Linked DNA regions of Homo sapiens: all the other regions are linked to region 1. Evidence: promoter capture Hi-C in 16 types of primary human blood cells and fetal thymus (Javierre and others, 2016). All regions are on one chromosome and are shown on one strand. Each heading gives the region's core, a stretch centred on a gene start or on the middle of the fragment in contact. The rest is flanking DNA. Distances are from core to core; before and after follow the strand shown. Region 1 holds the start of CEBPZ (CCAAT enhancer binding protein zeta). Region 2 holds the start of RMDN2 (regulator of microtubule dynamics 2). Region 3 has its middle 24 kb from the start of RMDN2. Region 4 has its middle 8.0 kb from the start of PIRAT1. Region 5 overlaps PIRAT1 (PU.1 (SPI1) induced regulator of S100A8 and S100A9 alarmin transcription 1). Region 6 overlaps PIRAT1 (PU.1 (SPI1) induced regulator of S100A8 and S100A9 alarmin transcription 1). Region 7 overlaps PIRAT1 (PU.1 (SPI1) induced regulator of S100A8 and S100A9 alarmin transcription 1).

Region 1 (2,808 bases), core at 128-2,627:
CTACCATATCCAACAACAATGGCCAATCTAACCCCAGAATTCCACAGAGGTCATATTTCAACCCAGCAAAAGATGAAATATTCTAAAATAAAGGACTATAGGCTTTCACCAAATGGCTCTGTAGAACAGACAAGGAAACGTGGGTCAGAAAGCTGTGACTGTGCCTAATCCTAGAACAGTGAAGACGACCCAGACTGCATTCTCAACTGCACATGTGAGAAAACCCAGCACATGTCTCCAATGCCAGCTGAAGCCATTCCAACACAGACGACTTTCCAGGCAGTAATTCCTATTTCCAGCTGCCTGTTGGAGATTTCTACCTAAGAGTCCCACACACTTCAAATTCATATACCAGCCTGAACTCTCCATCCTTCCTCCCGTATTCCTTCTCCCAAAGCAATGAATCCACACCACCCACCATCAGCCAAGTAGGAAAGTCATCCTTCCCGCATCATAAATCCAATCAGCTACATTCTGTCTCCTAAACACCCTTGGACCGTGTCCTCTCCTCTTTACTGGCACTGCCTCTGACGTGAGCCAGCCCTGACCAACTGACAAATTATCTGTCCCCAGGTCCTCAGAAATGGCTCTTCCCCTGGCAGGCACCCCCACTGCCTGGGCTGAGAACCTTCGGGCTTCTCCCTCCTGGCTTGCACCTCGCAAATCGGCTAGAGAGGGCCTAGTCCTCGGGCTACCCGACCCATACCTTGGCTGGATTAGTCAACACCTCCTTCATGTACTCGGCCACAGTGATGGGACCAGTAGACTTTATTTTGTACATAAGATGCCGCAGCATCGGCGTCACCGGGTTTTCTGCAGGCTCATTCCCGGAGCTGAAGTATTTCCCTCTCCAAATAAAAGGAATGGCTGCGAAAAACACAAATTAAACAGACCCCATGATAAATCTGACCATTCACGAGCGCAAGCCGCCTGAGCGTTTTCAAAACAGCTTCGTGAACCCTTAACCTCGCCCCACCGCAGACCGCGGGCTACTGTGCTTAGCACGCCCACGGGGCGCAGAGACAGCACCCACTTGCCCACGACTACGCAGCCCTATTGCGTTTGTACCGGACCCGTTTCCAGCCCAGGGTACCTTCAAGGTGGAAGTGAGCCCCCGAGCCCTTGATCCCCCGGTACCCTCAACTGAAGAGCTGAGGAAGGCGCCCCACGCGGCTTCCACGGCAACCGGGCTTCGAGGGGACTGACGCTTACCTGCGCGCGCCACGGCACACAACGGCCCCAAACCTGACCTCAGCAGTACACTCATGCTGAAATTCGCAGGCTAGCTCGCTCCGCCAGGAGCTGGGGCTTAGACCATTTCCGGGAGAAGACACGCCCCGACAGGAATTACGCCACTGGCAGAGCGGAAATAGGCTGAGTTTCACGCGCGTATGCTTTGCCCGCCATGGCCGCAGTCAAGGAGCCTTTGGAGTTCCATGCCAAGCGGCCTTGGCGCCCCGAGGAGGCAGTAGAAGATCCGGACGAGGAGGATGAGGATAATACTAGTGAAGCCGAGAATGGGTTCTCCCTGGAGGAAGTGTTACGGCTCGGAGGCACCAAGGTAACGGCCGCGGGCTCCGGGGAACGGGATCAGGCGTGGAGAGTTCCGAAGGTGGCTAGGCTGACTGCCCCGCCGCTTCCGCGCTGCGTAGAGCGCGGGCGTCCAGGACCGAGATCCCAGCCTCTGAAGCATGTGTTCGGTGCGCTTCCCACGCCGGTTTCCACTGCTGTTTACAAAAGAAAAGTTTCGAATTGAACGTTGTATTCTCTGGCTATTCTTAGGATGTAGGCGATCTTCTGATTTTATTGACGTGGTATAACCATCACACCATCAGGTCGGAGAGTGGCTTTTCTTGGTCCTGACCTTGTGGTATGAGTGTTTTGAACACCAGTGGTATTGGAATTTTCATTTCTGTTCTCATAGAGTACATGCACGTGTCACTGTATGCCCCAGAAGCCCTCTTTTTTGGAGCATCCTAATTAAGGGAGAGAAACAGTAAACAAACTTTTAAACACATAGTACAGCAGACGCGGGGTAGTGCTATAAAAGAAAATAAAACAAGGAAGGACGATAAGGAGTGGGAGCGCGTTAGTATTAAATGAGATGATCGACAAACACATCACGGAAATGTTTGAGCAGAATCCTAAAGGACAGGAAGGAGTGAGCTGCCATTCCAGTCAGTTGGAACAGCAAATGCAAAGACAGGCAGAAGAGTGCCTAACCTATTCCATGAGCAGCCAAAATGCCAGTGTAGCAGAGGCAGAGTGAGTTAAGGGGAGAATAGTAAGAAAGGAGGGCCGAGGGGTCAGAGGGCAGGCTTTTGCTCTGAGTTTGATGCAAAACCACTGGAAGATTTTAAGCAGATAAGGAACAGAAATTAACTTTGTTTTTAATATTATTTTGTTTGGAGACTGGACTTTCAAGGTGGAGGAGTTAGTTAGAGATAGGCAGATTCACAGTTTGCTCTGTGCTTGTGTATATTTAAGTTTTGAATAGGTAATATATACACATGAAACACGTGGTGCAAACTTTAAAAGATACATAGTGAAGTCAAATTGTTTCCACTTTTATCTCAGCCATAACCATTGCCCTGATAGGAAGCAATTATTTTTACAACTGCATTTTATATCTTTCAGGGATACTATATACCTTTTCAAGCATATACATACTCATTTATGTGTATGAAATACGGGTGTATCTTTTTTACATAAATGGTACCATATATATACACCTATCTCTACATTTTGCTTTCTTTTCTGTCTTAGAAATCCTTCTATATCAGTGCATAACGTTCTGTGTCATTGCTA
Region 2 (2,808 bases), core at 183-2,682, 690 kb before region 1:
CCTAAGGTCCCGCGCCGCGGCCGTCGCGTCCTGACCCAGATAGCGGAGGCGCCGGGGGAGGAGCCCGCGGCCGCTCGGCCCCCCGCTCCCGCCCCCTCTCCCTCTCGTGGTGGGTTCAACTCTACCGGGACTGGCGTTGGGTGCACCTTTTGCAAAATAAAATTGCACGTCGCGGGGCGCCTGGCTCGCGCCGGACCGTGTGTCTCGGCCGTCGCCTCCCTTCGAAGCCGGTCGGCACCTTTTCCCCCGCCTGGGCTCTGGGCCTCCGCGCTAGCCCCAGCGCGTTCCCTCTCGCGTTGCTGCCACTCCGCACGCCCACCGCCAGCTCGCTTCGTTCCGGCTCTCAAACCCACTCCCTCTCCCCTAGTTAAACCTTTTTCTGTGCCCTTTCTAGGCACAACCTTGCACTTTACTCCTCACGACTGAATTAAAGGCAGACGCCTTGCACTAATTACTGATATCTGCAGCCCCGTGTTCATAGCTTTATCTCACGTTTTCTTTTAATGAGCAATTTTGACAGCCTCTTCCTTCTCCCCGCCATTCCGAGTTGCCTTTAGATGAAAGCCGCTGTTTTTTCAGATGCCTGACATTTAAGGTTTTACCCAGCTTTCTGTGGTTTGTATAATGAAACTAATTCTGCTAAATACGCTCTTAAAAACTGGGCCGGGCGCGGTGGGTCACGCCTGTAATCCCAGCACTTTGGGAGGCTGAGGCAGGCGGATCACCTGAGGTCAGGAATTCGAGACCAGTATGGCCAACGTGGCGAAACCCCTGTCTCTACTAAAAATACAAAAAATTAGCCGGGCGTGGTGGTGGACGCCTGTAATCCCAGCTACTTGGGAGGATGAGGCAGGAGAATCGTTTGAACCCGGAGGCAGAGGTTGCAGTGAGGCGAGATCGCGCCACCGCACTCCAGCCTGGGTGATAGAGCGTCTCAAAAACAAAAACAAAACAGTACATACACTGCTTCTGTATTGTCCGCACCTTGAGTATTACTGCCTCAAGCTTAGGTTTGCATAACATTAATCTCTAAACTTCCCACCAATATATTGAGCAGAATTAAAAATGGGTACACTCTTTCTCAAAACAGCAACAGCAGACAACACCCATAAAGCCATGAAGAATCCAGAAGGCTTGTTTTGCAATCCATATACTACTGTTTACGGATAGGGATTCAGGGATTCTATAGGCTCTTTAAGATGATTTTTTGAGCTTCAGGCAAGCCGCATTGAAGAATAAGTAAGCCTGGCCATGGTCATTTTATTAAAAGTAATTTGTAGCAGGGCGCAGTGGCTCACGACTGTAAGCCCAGCACTTTGAGAGGCTGAGGCGGACGGATCACTTGAGGCCAGGAGTTCGTGACCAGCCTGGCCAATATGATGAAACACCATCTCTACTAAAAATACAAAAATTAGCCGAGTGTGGTGGCGCACTTCTGTAGTCCCAGCTGCTCGGGAGGTTAAGGCATGAGAATTGCTTAAACCTCAGAGGCAGAAGTTGCAGTGAGCCGAGATCGGGCCACTGCTCACCAGTCTGGGACAGAATGAGACTCTGTCTCAAAAAACAAGAGCAAAAACCTAAGTTGTATTTGGAAAAAGAGCAGATTAATCTTTAACCTCTCAGATTTGGAACTAGTAAAATATTACCTTCTACAAACCCACTTCACTCCTATTTATTATGGTTTGCAGCAATCTTGCAATATAATGCTAGCTTTATTTAACTAGAATACAATATGATATAAACCGATCATGCAAAACAATTTTCTCTTTTAACAAGATTTAGATACCAAAGAAACATGACTGTCTCTTCGCTAATACTTAAAAGGAGCTTTTCAGTATTTAAAACAAAATTTAAGCTTTTCCAGGAGCCCACTGAGTTGTTCACTGCTGCATCCCCAGCACATTGCACAGAAGAGGCTTTCAATAAAAATGTGACGTATGGGCTGTGAACAAGGCCTTACCAGTCTATTCCAAGAGGAAGATGGCAGCTGATACTGACTTGATCTTCAGGTTCAGGACATAGACTATGTCACACTTGCTCCTTTCCAATACATTTGTTTCTATTCCTTGATGAGTAAAAATTATCTGAAAGGTAGAAACTCAGGGACAGTGACAACCATTGACCTTGGCAAAGCTGTAACTAAATAGCAAAGACAGGCGCTATCTTTGCCAGGTACTGTTGCAGGGGTGACATAAAAAAGCAGAAATGATTCCCCTCCCCACTACTAGGAATGTCAGTCTAAAAGGAATATCTGAAGGAAAAACCAGAACATACTAAGAATCTCAGAGTTGCTGTTATTCATCAAACCAGTACGGCATGACAATCATTTGGGAGGAGTGGGTACAGACCCTTCACGATTTGCCCCAACCTACTTTTCCAGCTTTTCTCCGCTACTTCCACCAGACATCATTCTACACTTCAGCACTAGCTAAGCTACTGATCGTCTCTCCACAAGCTGTATCCTTTTTATCCTGTTCCTTGTGCCTGGAATATCCTGTTGCTTGCCACCCGTCCAAAACCAATTCAACCACTTCAACCTCTTTCCCTTGAGAAGCTACACACTCTCTCCTTCCCCATAAGAAGTATTCATCCATGCCCCATCAAAACTTATGGAAGGACCAGGAGTTTCAATGAATACAAAATGCCTCCCTGCTAGCTTACAGCAAACCTCTCTGGTGTACACTATATAATTACTGCTTGCCAGTGACTGTGTGTTTGTGAGGCTGTGAACATCTTCAAGGATGGTAGCATTTATCTTTGTATCTTGGGAACCTGGCATGGTGCACACCCTCTATATTAGATAACTAT
Region 3 (2,808 bases), core at 214-2,713, 670 kb before region 1:
GATGAAGCATTTATCTAACAGGAATTATATATCTAATGTTGATGGTAGAGATTGTATTTGATAATTTTGAGGGTCTGTCTGGCCATGTGCTCTAAATGTAACGAGCCTGACAATTTTTGCCTGAAGGAGAAGGTACAAAAATATTGATGGATCAGTTAAGAACTCTTCCAACTACAAGTAACAACAGCAAGATAGTCTAACAGTCGTTTTTAAAAAGAGGCAAGTGGTTGCTGGCATTGATTCATCAATCAATGATGCCATCAAAAGCCAGACTCTGTCTTTCAGTTGTATTAGTCTCAGCTTTGGCTTTTTGTCCTAGTGCTTTTCTTGCTTAAGGCAGAAAGAAGCGAGAGAAAGACATGGTGCCAATTGTCAGGAAAGAAAAGCTATCTCAGAAACCCCCCATGAAACTTATCCTTTCAACTCATTTGCCGGAAATAGAACACATGGCCTTTCCCAGCTGCAAGAGAAGCTGGAAACCAGGTACCTGGCTTTCTGACCTCAAGAGTAGGAGAATGAAAGAGAGAAGGAGGTTTGGAATGGTTTTGGGTTAATTTGCTCACAGAGTCTGCCACACCAACCAAGGGAGAGTTGGAGGGAATGTGTAGCCAAGACAAGATGTAGAACTCTGAAATACACAACAGTGGATGTAAAGCACATGGGAGGTATATATATGGGACAATGTCTTCTTCAATCTCTCTGTAATCTTTCCACATACTGTCTTTAGTGCTTCATGCTATATATACTATAACACATTAACATAATTATATTAAGAGATACCTTGCACTGAAGAATTTTAAAGCAATATTATTGTCTATTCAATCACGGTATCCTAATTTTTAGGTTCAAGTTAATACTCAATGTTCATGTATTATGGAGTCTAAGAATACCTTAACAGTAACTGCCAATTGCTGGCATATTCAGGCAAGATTTTTTAAAAATATAAATTCTCATGTATTCTGTGGTTTGTATAAAAGCCTGTGGTTTGAGATGCCTTCAACAGGGTTGGAGGAGTGGAAAGAGAAAGAGAACAGGAGAAAATAGCAACCAGGTGGGGAAGCTCTTTTGAAAGAAGAGAGCTCTCTGGAATATTGTCTTGAGGGTGTTACAGAAGGTAGACACAATAAAACTGTAAGGAAAGAAAGTGGGCCTGGGAGAGTATGATTTAAAAAAAAAAAACAGAGGAAACATTTTTAAATCTAGAGAGTCAAAGCATTGAGAGTGTAGTGCTTGTATATCCCCTACCTAACTTCATTTGTTGAAATTCTAACTCCCAATGTGATGGGGTTAGGAGGCGAGGCCTTTGGTAATTGATTAGACCGTGAGGGTGGAGCCCTCATGAATGGTATTAGTGCCCTTATAAAAGAGACCTGGAGAGCTCACCTCCCCTTCTGCCATATAAGGTTACAGTAAAAAGACAGCAGTCTGTGAACCAGGAAGTGGGCCCTTACCAGACATCAAATCTGCTGGTGATACAGAATGGCTGGGCTCCCAGCTAAACCCCACCCTCAAGCCTGGAACCTCAGCCCTAACTGAAAACAGCTGACCCCATTTTTCTGCCCAAATGTTGTTGTTTTGGCCTGCCATAACCCTATCCTCTGCCCATAAAAAGACTTCAGCTGGCAGAGCAACACAAGGCGGCTGATGCAAACGGCTGGGGATGCAAGCAGCTGAGCGCTGGGGATACCAGTTGCTGAATGTCAGGGATATAAGTGGCTGGGTGTTGCAGACTATCTATAGATGGCGGCTAATTTCAGACGGTGTGGATTCAGGGAAAGATCACCTTCTTCCCGCACCATCCCCTTTCTAACTCCCATCCCACTGAGAGCCATCACCCAGTAAAATCCTCCGCATATGCTACCCTTCAATCTGTTCGTGTGACCCGATATGTCCTGGATGCCGAACAAGAACCCAGGTGCCCAGAGGGCAGGGGCTTGGATGCTGTTATGGGGCCCACACAGAGCCTGCTCCCGCCAGAGGAGTGACCGGCCTGTTCTAGCGCTCGTTCCCTCCCGTTCCTGCACTCGCTTGCTCGCACGCTCCCACGCTCCTTCTCGCATGAGGAGCGGCCAGTGATGGGCTGAGTGAAACAAGCCACTCCAGTTCCCGCCCACAAAGGGGGTCAAGGAAACTATCCCATCTCACTGGCACCTTGATTTTGGACTTCACAGCCTTCAGAACTGTGAGAGATAACTGTTTGTTGTTTAAGGCATCCAGCTATGATATTTTTGTTATGGCAGCCTGTATTAGTCTATTTTTCACACGGCCAGTAAAGACATACCCAAGACTCAGCAATTTACAAAAGAAAGAAGTTTAATGGACTTACAGTTTCACATGGCTGGGGAGGCCTCACAATCATGGCAGAAGGCAAGGAGGAACAAGTCACATCTTACTTGGATGGCAGCAGGCAAAGAGAGAGCTTGTGCATGGACACTCTGCCTTGTAAAGCCATCAGATCTCATGAGACGTATTCACTATCACGAGAACTGCACAGGAAAGACCTGACCCCGTGATTCAATTACCTCCCACCAGGCCCCTCTCACAACATGTGGGAATTCAAGATGAGATTTGGGTGAGGACACAGCCAAACCATATCACAGCCTCACCAGACTAAGGCAGAGATTATTACAAGTAAACTAAAATTTGTTGAATAATTGTGATGAATGTCTAATCATACTATCTGAATTCTCATTTGCCAGATTCTTCCTGTCCAATATTTCTAAATCCAGTGGAAACATAGAAGGAAGATAACCCAAATTAAAACATTTTTCTTCCAGCTGGGTGTAGGAGCTAGTGTCTGTAATCCCA
Region 4 (2,808 bases), core at 91-2,590, 650 kb before region 1:
ATGGACTAAAGCAGAACTATGCAGTGGGGATGGGGTGGGATAAAAATACAGTCTGAGAACTGCTGGTTCAAAAGAAGACCCTCAGTGGCAGGTGCTTTACTGAGGGGTTCCTGACCAAGATCCCCACAGGTAAGGCGTCAGATTCATCAGAGTCTGAGAGACCAACTCAGGCTAGAGACCAAGTGTAGGAGACGGAGGTCAACACCAAATGTCAACTACTCTTCTTAGTGAGAAAAAATGGACTGGACTGTTTACAATTTTCTGTACTTACTATATGGCAAAGTGAGTCGTAATCAGAAACCACTTTATTAATTTATCATGAGAAAGCATGATCATCAGTCTGGAACTGTGATTCAAAGTCTGTATCTTTAACGTTCTCTTTTCATATAGACATATGGAAGAACATAATCAGAAGGACTCAACTAAGGGGAAATTAAAGAATGAAATCAAATTTTTAATCACATCAGCTAAAATATTCTGATATTTCTATCTTCTAAATCAAGAGACTCCAAATTTTGATGATAGCACACCTCAATCAGCAAAAACTACTGGGGCCCACATTGCCAGTATAGGCCTATTTATTTATGAATTATGTGTACCTTCTACTGACATTTTGAACATTAAACATCAATCAAAATTAATTTAAAAATGGGCCGGGTGTGGTGGCTCACGCCTGTAATCCCAGCACTTTGGGGGGCCAAGACAGGTGGATCACCTGAGGTCAGGAGTTTGAGACCAGCCTGACCAACATAGTGAAACCCCGTCTCTACTAAAAAAACAAAAAAATTAGCTGGGTGTGGTGGTGGGTGCCTGTAATCCCAGCTACTCGGGAACCTGAGGCAGGAGAATCGCTTGACTGGGAGGCAGAGGTTGCAGTGAGCCGAGATCATGCCATTGCACTCCAGCCTGGGTGACAGAGAGACCCCATCTCAAAAAAGAAAAAAAATAGTTCGAATATTTTCTTTACTTGTTACAGTGGAATATTTCAACTATCATTTAATAAAAGAAATAGATTTTACATACATGAATTTCCTGTGTATGACTCTTTTGGATGGATATATTGAAAACATTCTATAAAATGCATAAGATGCGTGACAATTACTTTCCTCAGGTGTGCTCTAATGAGATTATTATAGTAACTGTATGGTAACTATTGTCATCCCAATATGTAGAAACTCTGATTCCAAGCTCCTAACTTTTGTGTTTGCCCTTTGTCTACCTTTGAAGAGCATGCTGCTTCCCTTCCTTGCATGGAAATACCATGATCATTAAAAATATTGAAGACATCAAACAAGTAAGCAAGTCTGACTGTCCGTTTCATATCTGCAAAAGTTAGGACTAAACTGATTTCTTATCTTGCAGAAACATAACTATGACTTCATGTCATAGTTCAAACATCCTTGACTTGACAGAACATTTCCTTTCAATGACCATCCCACCTCATCAAGAAACGATTGTTATTGTTTGGATCAGTATCCATATTAACACATAATAAAGAAAATGATTTGAATTGAACATATTGGCTGTGAGGTCATTCAGTTTTTACTATATCACTAAGCACACTGTGTAGTTCGGCTGACTTGTAAAAGGTTTTTAACAGGATTTTCTCAATGAAGAAAACTAGAAATTAATTAACAGTCACTGGCACAAGCTCCTTAAGCTGGGTAACCATTCCATAATGTTTTCCTGTCATTGGAATTACAACACCAGACCATATTCATACATGCAATTTAAACTCTTCATCATAGTTATTTATAATATAGTCCTTCCCAGTTGTATATGGTTCAGAGCTAGTTGTGTTTCATGGTGATTAAGTTGCTAAACACAATTTTTCCTTTACACCAAGTCGGCAATATGTGTGTATTCATCAAGTTGAAACAGACAGCACTTTGTTAGCATTATAGACCAGCTAGAAAGGTGGGAGCCTGTACCAGAGCAGTTAGAGTAGGATATAGAGAAACAAATACATCCAAGAAATATTCATGAGGCCAAGTTGAAGGAGTAGGATGAGGATATGGGGATGAAGGGGTAGAAAGAACATGTCAGAGACTACTTTCAGGTTTCTGGCTTGGATACCTAGATGGATGGTGATATTAGTAAATACTATAGAGAATATAGGAGAAAGATAAGGTTTGAAACGAAGTTGATGAGTTTACTTCTGTGCCACATACTGAGATTGAGGTTCTTGAATAGATTGATCATTCATCATGGTTTGCCTGAACTGTGTGGATTTATGCCTGTTGTCCTAGTTTAATTAGTAATTGCACCCTCTTTCCTCTCAAAAAGAAAACTACTTGACTGCTTCATTTGTTCTTGAGTTGGTCTCCTAGATCATTAGCCATTTCCTGAATATGTCAGGTTATGGAGTCATTAGAAAGTGGTACTAGAGGCTAGGTGCAGTGGCTCACACCTGTAATCCCAGCACTTTAGGAGGCCGAGGCAGGCAGATCACGAGGTCAGGAGTTTGAGACCAGCTTGACCCAAACGGTGAAACCCCATCTCTACTAAAAATACAAAAATTAGCTGGGCATGGTGGCGTGCACCTGTAATCCTAGCCACTCAGGAGGCTGAAACAGGAGAATCGCTTGAACCCAGGAGACAGAGGTCGCAGTGAGCTGAGATCACGCCACTGCACTCCAGCCTGGGTGACAGAGCAAGACTCTGTCTTAAAAAAAAAAAAAAAAAAAAAAAAGAAAAGAAGAAAAGAAAAGAAAGTGGTACTAGAGTTACCTTCTTGGCTACAGATTCATCTGAAATTTCCAAGCAAACATTTCTGATGCAAGTTTTCACTGCCTTCTTAGCAATTAC
Region 5 (2,808 bases), core at 148-2,647, 630 kb before region 1:
TGGATTTTCTTGGCTCGGTGACTGACTGGAGGTGGGCACGGAAGAGTCAAAGGCCACATAAAATGTTGAGGCAGAACACGAGGAAAAGTGTGAAGTCAGTGGTAGGATCTGGCTGAGGGATTATGGGAAGGAATAAGTGTCGTTTGGGGTACAGAGATTTGTGGCAGCAGAAGGCATCAGATTGCCAGCTGGTTGAATATTTGGGACCAGCTTTTTGTCCCCAAGGCTTGGAGCAGGGGACAGATCCAGAGAATGCTACACAGAGATGGGGCAGGAGAGGAGAGACGACAGAAAGGCCAAGTGCAGGGATTACATGGTGAGGGCTGAGGGCAGAGAGTAGGGAGACCCCTATGTGTTTGCACAGGAGGAGAGAGAGGAGCCGGGAAGAAGTGATGGAGGAGCTTTTGGAGAGAATGCGGGGCAGAGAGCAACGGAGCACAACCTCACAGAAATTGAGGGAGACCTTTCCAGAAAGAGGGTGGGGTTGGGGAGGTTGTTAATGGAGTCCAATACTGGGACAGTCACAGATAAGAAAGGTGGATCAAAGCCATTGGAATGGACAATCATGAAGCCATGAAAAACAGATGGTGGGTTACTCTTGCTCTTTGAATACATTTGAAGGTAAAGAGAGGGGGTCAAAGAGGTAAAAGGACTTTTTCTTGTTGCCTTGTGAGCAACGGAGCACCTGTGCTCACTTCTAGGTAGAGAGAACAAAGCCAAGGGAGAGGGAAGCTTTAAAACAAAAAATCAGAAGGGAGGATGATTGGAGCAAAGTTACAGAGGGGGCCCAGGACAAGAAAGATGAGGGTGTCATCCTCAGAGACAGGAGGAAAAAATGAATGACTGAAGCTTCAAAAGGAGAGACATGGAGAAAGGTCATGTCTATGGCTCGGTGTCTCAGGAGAGTGAGAGGACAACCTGAGGGAATGAGGCTTGGGTGGGGACTTGAGGAGAATGGGAAAGACTTGGGGAGCCAATCTGAGAGATGCCTGAAAATTCATGAATCTTGTCCAAAGGATTGTCCAGCAGCCGTGAGGGTCATCTGCAGGCTCGATAGCCCGTGTCAGTGGCTTCAGTCAGCACAGCCCTGCGACTGTTCTCCTCAGTGTTTGGCAGCTCAAGAGAGAGGCCAGAGAGGGTTGGGGCAGCAAGGACAGTGCTGATGCAGTGGAGGTCAAGGTCAGGAGGGAATGTTAGAGATGTCTGATGGTCATCTGGGAGGGCCAGGGGCCTGCCAGGATGAGGAGGAGGGAGGTGTGGGCGTGGTGGCAGCTGTGTAGGAGGAGGATGTGCTGCCTGCCTGCCTGCCAGTGCCCCCAGATTCATTCCTGTTCTTTCCAGGGCCCCTCTCCTTCCAGCCTTCAGGCAGTGTACACCAATGGGGGGCCCTGAGGGAGCACTGGGGGTGCAGAGGGGGCGAATCGTGGTCATTTCTTGCCTTCTTCCCCCTTCCTGTGGCCTCACTTACAGTGGCTGTGTTTCCTTCTTGGCTGTGGATCCTGCAGGGAAACCCTTTCCTCCATGATCCCAGCTCCCACTAAGCAGCCACTGCCCCATGGCCCTGACGACCAGTCTCTGGTCACGCTACTTCCTCCCCATGTTCCTCCAGTCTCAGCAGTGGTCCTGGGTTACTAAAGATGCTAATCTCTCTATAATCTGTGAAGTGATTCCCTGGTTGAAATATCTAGAGTGGTTTCTGTCTTCCTCAGAGGACTTTAACTGATATACCGGAAAAGAATTAAAAACAAATATATCTCTCTTGATCTGCTCCCATCTCCTTTTTATACCTTTGCCTCCAAACAAGTGGGGAACAATATATAGTTTAAAAGTTATCCAAAGCAGCAAAATAAAGGAATGTGCACGTGTGGATACAAATGTCTTCTGATTGGAGAAAAGATGGGGCATGATGGCCTTGGGGTAACTGGAAGAGCCAGCACAAGCTTCTTTGCCACCTTCCAGAGATGAAAGCGGTGTGAACACAGAGCCAGGTTTGAGTATGCCGTCATCTATGTGGCCCTCTGGCCTCTAAGTAGCTCCTCTACCATAGGTTTGGTACCTGAAATTCCTCTATTCCTGATATATATATATATATTTTCTATTTGAGTCCAGTTACTTTTCAGCTCCAGGAAGTTTCTGTTGAAATAGAATAAGCAATATAAGAAAGCCACTCTATTAGACCAGGATGGGCTGGCTCTCCAGTTGGAGACGCGTTAGGGGATAGAACCATAATAGAGCTTGGGTTTGAATAGACAGAGAGAAATGGGAAGATTTGTAGGGACAAGCCAGGTGGAGGGTGGCCATGAGGACCAATGGACAGAGAGGGCAGGTTTGCTGGGAATAGACAATGAGCACCTCTACCTGGCTGGCACTTTAAGCAATGGAGGGAGAGGAGGTTGGGCAGGTGGGCTGGAACCCGAGGACCTAGACTGCTGGACTAAGGATTTGCACTTGTCCCAGAAGGCAGTGGGAAGCAGAGCTCTGCACAGAGCTAGAGCATGTCAAGTGGCATGTTAAGACAAAGACAAAGCCCTGAGTCCAGTGGCATCATGGAGAATGGATTGAAAGCAAAGGGAAACTAGAGACAGGAAGACTGACGAGGAGGTCATTGCAATAATCCAGACAAATTGTGATGAGGACCTGGACTAGAATAGTGGCAGGAGACCAGGGAAATAAAGGATGTGAGAGATATTAGGGAGGGACTATTCCACAGGATGAGGCTGGTTGGGTAGGAGAGTTCTAGCAGATGGATGAGATTCAAGCAAGGTTGATTTGTTGGAAGTGCTTCCAAAATATGCACTTTATTACTTA
Region 6 (2,808 bases), core at 182-2,681, 620 kb before region 1:
ATTTCTATAATTGCTCCCACCCTCCCTGATAGAATTTATCATTTTTTCTCCTGTGCCAGTTGTATTATGTTAAGTTTTATAGAAACATCTGTATCCTGTAGATGTTTCCAAGTTTTTTTTTTTTTTTTTTTTTTTTCTTGATTACAAGCCTCCTTGAGAGCAAGGCGTGGTGCAGAATAGGCTCTTACATGTTGTTCAAAAGAGTCATCATCGCTGTTACCGTCAATCTGGCTGCAGTGAACAGAATGGACAGAGGGGGAGGCAGCCCAAAGGCCAAGAGATAGGCAATGAGACACAACATAGGAGAGGAAGTGTGGACTGGGATGGGGGTAACATGAATTGAGAGCGGGAAGCCTGTGAGAGACAATTTGGAAGTTAATGTTGGTGAAACAGAGCAACTGTGATTTGATCTATGTTGGCGGGTAAGATGGGGTGGAATTGGGGTCCAGGCATTACGAAGGGCTCCCAGGAGACATATTGCCAGGGTAGGCAGAAAGAGTCCTACTCCAGGGGAAGGCAGAGCTAACTGTGAAGATGTGGGTCTTGCTCAGTTGCTCCTTCTGCCTGGAATTCCCACTCACCCCCACTGTAAGTAATCCAATCATACACAACTTTCAGGAACATCTCAGAACATCTCAGAAGCCTGTGCCTTTTAGATGCCTATCAGAATCTCTATTTCTAGGCATTAGCTCTCCCACCTTCCAACCCATATAGCATTTTAAGCTTCCCATGTGGCATGTTCAGTTTCATGTCACACTTATTTGTTCTCTTACCCCTTCCTAACAGAACATAGGCTCCCTTTGTTCTGTGTTCATACCATTTTATTCATTTGAGTGGAACAACTGCCCTGATTCCAGAGCTTTATTTTCAGATCCAAGGGGAGGGGAAGAAGTCAACAGTGACTCCAAGGTTTTTGCCTGAACTATCAGAAGGATGGAGCTGCCATTAACTAAGATGGGGAAGAGCATGATTGATAAGAAATAGCAGGAGGTCATTTTTGGACAAGATATATTTGAAAAGTCTACTACACAGCCCACTGGAGATGTTGAGTGGACAGTTTGATATATAAATTTGAAACTTAGGAGTGAGATACAAGCTACAGGTATACATTTGGGAGTTGTTAACTTACAAAGGGCCTTTAAACGCTTCAGACTGGATGGGATCATCAGTAAACTGAATAGGGCTAGAAAAGAGAAGACATCCAAGGACTGAACTCTGAGGTACTCCAGAGTTTGGGGAGAAAAGGAATAAATAGCAAATGAGACTGAGAAGTGACTGATGTGAAAGAAGGAAAACAAACAAAATGCAGAGTCCTAAACATAGCAAGATTAAAGGATTTCCAGGGGAAGGGAATCATCTATTACTTCACATTATGCTACTAGGTCAAGTAAGATAATGACCGAGAATTGAATTAGCAATGTGGAGGTCATTGGTGAACTTGAAAGAGTACTTTTGGTGGAATGGTGAGGACAAAGGTTTGATTGGAATGAGTGTAAAAGGGGAATGAAGGAGAGGAATTAGAGGCAAAAACTTTGAGAAATTTTCTGTAACAAGAGAAGTGGGACACTAGATGGGTGGAAAGATAAACTGAGGTTTCTTTCTTTTTTTTTTTTTTTTTTTTTCAGAAAAAAAAAAAATAATAATAGAAATACCAGCATGCTGATAGGAGTAATCCAAGAACAAGAGGAAAATTAGTGCAGGAGAGAGAGAGAGAGAGTGAGAGAGAGAGAGAGAGAGAGAGTGAGAGAGAGAGAGACAGGGAGAGGAGAAAGAGAGAGACAGAGAGAGGAGAAAGAGAGAGGGAGAGGAGAAAGAGAGAGACAGAGAGGAGGACAGAGACAGAGAGAGGAGAAAGAGAGAGACAGAGAGAGGGAGAGAACGGAGAATTACAAGAGTGGTGTCCTTGAACAGGTGAGAGGGAATGGGAGCTGGTGTACAAGTATAAGGAATGGCCCTATAGGCACAGATGGTTCATCCATAGTAATGAGAGGAAAGGTAGAGCACAGTTGTGGCAGGTGAGTAGATATGAAATGGAACATTGTGGAAGTTCTTTTATTTCTGCTTCAAGTTTCAGGAAAGAATGGGAAATACTTGGGTGCCAAAGGAAAAAAGAAAATTCAAACTAGGAAGGCAAGCTTCTGTGTTGATATTTCAGCCAGTGTGGGGAGGCGTCAGGAGTTGGTCAGATACTTTCCTGGCTTGGATTTTAATGGCTATGGAGGGACAGAGACAAGATTGCGTGTCTACAAAAGGTGCTGAGATGGCTACGTAAAGCCTGGACTCTCAAAGGACACCACTGAAAGGTTAGACTAGAAAACATTGTACCTGCTGGGCATGGTGGCTCATGCCTATAATCCCAGCACTTTGGGAGGCCGAGGCGGGCGGATTGCCTGAGGTCAGGAGTTCGAGACTGGTCTGGCCAACATGCTGAAGCACCGTCTGTACTAAAAATACAAAAAAATTATCTGGGCGTGGTGGCATGTGCCTGTAATCCCAGCTACTTGGGAGGCTGAGGGAGGGGAATTCTTTCAACCAGGGAGGTGGAGGTTGCAGTGAGTCAACATCGCACCACTGCACTCCAGCCTGGGTGACAGAGTGAAACTCCATCTCAAAACAAAAACAAAACAAAACAAAACAAAAAAACAGAAAACATTTTGCCAGTGGCCCAGATGATCATAGGGAAACTCATCTGGCTATGAGTGAATAAAAGCATCCTGCAAAATGCAAATCCCAGGCCTAACCTTCTCTCAAATTAGTGGTTCAAATATATGTTACCCCAGGAACCTCAAAACCAGAGCCAGTGATGCC
Region 7 (2,808 bases), core at 221-2,720, 600 kb before region 1:
TGGTGTGATCACAGCTCACTGCAGCCTTGACCTCCTGGGCTTAGGTGATCCTCCCACCCTAGCCTCCCATGTAGCTGGGACTAGAGGTATGTGCCACCTCACCTCCTTTTTTTCTTTTCTTTTTCTTTTTTGGAGAGACAGATTCTTCTTATGTTGCTATTTTAAACTCCTGAACTCAAGTGATCCTCCTGCCTTGGCCTCCCAAAGTGCTGGGATTACAGGTGTGAGACACTGCACCCTGCCCAAGGTAATATTTTGACCTTCCTTTACCTTATTCTTTGTCCATCTCTTAATTAGTTTATAACTTAGACGGGAAAAAAGAGGTGTCTAAATAAATAAATAAATAAATTTATTTAAATAAATATTAAATAAATCCCATCAGTTCCCCATAGAATGCCATTTTCCCCTAGCTGTCTATTCATGTAACAAAACGAACAAGAAAACACTACAAATTCTCTCCCTATTTATACTGTCCCACCATTATGTTATAACTCTCATTATAATGTTTTAGTTTTTCCTTGAAATAATAATCATCAACCCATTTGTAAACCATATGTTTCTACCCACAAGTGACAACCAGAATTTCAGGATTAATTGCAAGAGCCATAAAGAGCTTTTTGGTCATTTCCCTAAGAGCCTCCATGAATAGTAACAAGGGCGAATAGTAACCCCCGGCTTCAGCTGTCCCCACTGCTGTGGCAGGTTATGATACTTTCTTTCCTAAAGTAAAGGCCAAGACAGATGGCTTTTCAGGACTTCCAGAGTCTGTATGACATAAGAAGCTTATTCCAGTAAAGGGAACAAGACCCTTGTCATCTGACACCAATGAGATGCTCTTCCCTTGGCTGGCAGGGATCTGGAGGAGGAGGAGCAGATAACCTTCAGCCTAAATAAGCAATACCATCATTATTCTGGAATCTCTCTGAAGTATGGTTGGTTACAGTGTGGAATTCCACAGGGCACGTGCCTGTCTTGGACTCTATCCAAGGGAGTAAGTTATCACAAGGACCTCATTATAACAGGGGCTCCAGGGACAGTGTCAGTCAGCAGGCTTCAAGGTAGCTGCTAAAATTCTGGTGCTGGTCTGTTTAATCACTGCATGCTTGTTAATACAGTCAAGCCTCAGTTACAACAGAATCAACAGCCCAGTTTGTCACTCATCCATTCCTTGTTCCGTCACCGCCTGGTTGAGTTTCTGGCTTGTTTATGGGGCAACTCTGGGTGTCGGGCAAAATGAATGCCTCTTGTTTGAAATGCCTAATCCCGAGGTTTTTCACCTATGTGTTGTTTTCTCCCACCAGCACCTCTGCTCCGTGCCATGCTCTTGGCTAATTGGAGTTGTGAAAGGCATGAGGATTCTGGTCATGGACTCAGCTCTCCCATAGGGTTCTGACACCAAAGCAATGGTCACAACAGTGAAAGGAAGAATCCATCTGGCCAGGCTCAGGTGGTTCAAGGCCTTCAGAATCTGCCTTGAGACTCTCACTGGCTTTAGACTGAAAACCATCTTGGCCCCGTCCATCCGTGTAAGCAATTTAACGACAGCTTGCAAAGCACCGAGCTTTAACAGAAAGAAGAGATGAGCACAGCGCAAGAACTTGGACTCCAGAAGAGCTGCCTAACAGATTATTTTTCTGTGGCATTTCATGAGAACAAACGAAGTAGGAATTTTCCTTTTGTTTGTCTGGCCTTTGGCATCGTTTACTTTCTTTTTATTCTTCTGAAATGTACTTCGAGCCCTGGCAGCATTTCTGTCCTAAAATCTTATTGTCAGAGGTTTATTTTTCAGCTTTTCAAATCATATCTGATAGAGTGAGTGTACTGCCTGGACTCATCACTTTACTTCAGAAGAAATACAGCTCACCCTTTAAATGACAATGGTGACTGTCCACATCTTTATGTTTTCTACACTGAAGTGGCAGGCTTCATTTAAAAATAATGTTTTCCCTCATCAAAAGAGAGCTAGGGTAGAACCGTCAACTCTGCTGTTGTCTGGGTAGTGACCTAACACCCACGTTTTGGACAATCACTCACTGTCTTATATTGGGTTTTCATTGCATGTAGGATAATTCTTTGTCAATGGTAGTTTTGTCAACCGTGATCTGAGGTAATGAGGTTTTCTACTTTTGCTTGAAATTTTGAAAATATGCAAGCTTTAAACATTTGCAAAGTTGGATTCTGTTTTCTTTAGAAAGCAATCTGATTTGCTGATATTCTCTCCATCTGTCAGGGGATGCGTGATGTGGTGTAGACTTAATGTGCTGCCTTTCTGGAACATGGACAGAGTAGCAGCACAGAAAAATGAGCATTTCAGCTCTGTGATGATTTGTGAAAAAAAATCTCAGATCATTGAGCAGGCATTTTGCTGACACCTGTGAAAAGTAACCACATGAGAGAGCATGGCGTGATGGTCGGAGGCCACGTGCTGGAGCTGGACTGCTTGAGTCAAATCCCAGCTGCTCAGCTGTAGTGAACTGAATGGTGGTCCCCAAAAGATACATGTATCTCCTAATCCCTGGAACCTGTGAATGTGACCTTATTAGGCAAAAGGGTCTTTGCAGATGTAATTACATTGAGGCTCTCAGAGATGAGAACATCCTGGATTATCAGGGTGGGTCCTATATCCAATGACAAGTGTCTCCTTATAGGAGACAGAAGAAGTTGCAGACCCGGAAGAGACTAAGTAAAGATGGAGGCAGAGACTGGAGTGAGGCTGCTGCAGGCCAAAAATGCCTGGTGCCAGCAAAAGCTGGAAGAGGCAAGGAAGGACCTTTCCCTGGGGCTTTTGGAGGGAGTGCAGCCCTGCTG

The links. The method cuts DNA at HindIII sites, captures the fragments that hold promoters and counts their contacts. A CHiCAGO score of 5 or more calls a contact.
Region 2: a fragment that was not itself captured here is called in contact with the fragment with the promoter of CEBPZ in region 1 in 4 of 17 cell types (total B cells, fetal thymus, activated CD4 T cells and 1 more); the score reaches 6.2 in total B cells.
Region 3: a fragment that was not itself captured here is called in contact with the fragment with the promoter of CEBPZ in region 1 in 1 of 17 cell types (M1 macrophages); the score reaches 5.1 in M1 macrophages.
Region 4: a contact is called between a fragment that was not itself captured here and the fragment with the promoter of CEBPZ in region 1, in 10 of 17 cell types (activated CD4 T cells, neutrophils, fetal thymus and 7 more). The highest score is 8.7, in activated CD4 T cells.
Region 5: a contact is called between a fragment that was not itself captured here and the fragment with the promoter of CEBPZ in region 1, in 2 of 17 cell types (endothelial precursors and naive B cells). The highest score is 5.9, in endothelial precursors.
Region 6: a contact is called between a fragment that was not itself captured here and the fragment with the promoter of CEBPZ in region 1, in 4 of 17 cell types (activated CD4 T cells, naive B cells, total B cells and 1 more). The highest score is 7.6, in activated CD4 T cells.
Region 7: a contact is called between a fragment that was not itself captured here and the fragment with the promoter of CEBPZ in region 1, in 4 of 17 cell types (naive B cells, neutrophils, total B cells and 1 more). The highest score is 5.9, in naive B cells.

Annotation. Positions count from the first base shown.
Region 1 is chr2:37,230,165-37,232,972 of GRCh38, reverse strand. It overlaps CEBPZ (CCAAT enhancer binding protein zeta), which reads left to right and starts at 1,377. Exons shown (of 16, transcript NM_005760.3): 1 at 1,377-1,561. The coding sequence starts at 1,406. NDUFAF7 (NADH:ubiquinone oxidoreductase complex assembly factor 7) reads right to left here and starts at 1,315. Exons shown (of 10, transcript NM_144736.5): 1 at 1,213-1,315; 2 at 707-867. The coding sequence starts at 1,267. RefSeq lists enhancers at 1,426-1,875, 833-2,032. The HindIII fragment of the contact is 13,102 bases long and covers 1-2,808 here.
Region 2 is chr2:37,922,520-37,925,327 of GRCh38, reverse strand. It overlaps RMDN2 (regulator of microtubule dynamics 2), which reads right to left and starts at 41. Exons shown (of 11, transcript NM_001170791.3): 1 at 1-41. RefSeq lists a silencer at 1-226. The HindIII fragment of the contact is 850 bases long and covers 1,008-1,857 here.
Region 3 is chr2:37,899,687-37,902,494 of GRCh38, reverse strand. No RefSeq gene overlaps it. Among named protein-coding and RNA genes, the nearest start is that of RMDN2, 24 kb to the left of the region's middle. The HindIII fragment of the contact is 3,778 bases long and covers 1-2,808 here.
Region 4 is chr2:37,882,435-37,885,242 of GRCh38, reverse strand. No RefSeq gene overlaps it. Among named protein-coding and RNA genes, the nearest start is that of PIRAT1, 8.0 kb to the right of the region's middle. The HindIII fragment of the contact is 4,050 bases long and covers 1-2,808 here.
Region 5 is chr2:37,861,435-37,864,242 of GRCh38, reverse strand. The region is part of intron 2 of PIRAT1 (PU.1 (SPI1) induced regulator of S100A8 and S100A9 alarmin transcription 1); the gene reads left to right. Among named protein-coding and RNA genes, the nearest start is that of PIRAT1, 13 kb to the left of the region's middle. The HindIII fragment of the contact is 1,091 bases long and covers 852-1,942 here.
Region 6 is chr2:37,845,406-37,848,213 of GRCh38, reverse strand. The region is part of intron 2 of PIRAT1 (PU.1 (SPI1) induced regulator of S100A8 and S100A9 alarmin transcription 1); the gene reads left to right. Among named protein-coding and RNA genes, the nearest start is that of PIRAT1, 29 kb to the left of the region's middle. The HindIII fragment of the contact is 1,412 bases long and covers 726-2,137 here.
Region 7 is chr2:37,826,372-37,829,179 of GRCh38, reverse strand. It overlaps PIRAT1 (PU.1 (SPI1) induced regulator of S100A8 and S100A9 alarmin transcription 1), which reads left to right. Exons shown (of 4, transcript NR_110012.1): 3 at 142-247; 4 at 1,302-2,808. Among named protein-coding and RNA genes, the nearest start is that of PIRAT1, 48 kb to the left of the region's middle. The HindIII fragment of the contact is 1,371 bases long and covers 785-2,155 here.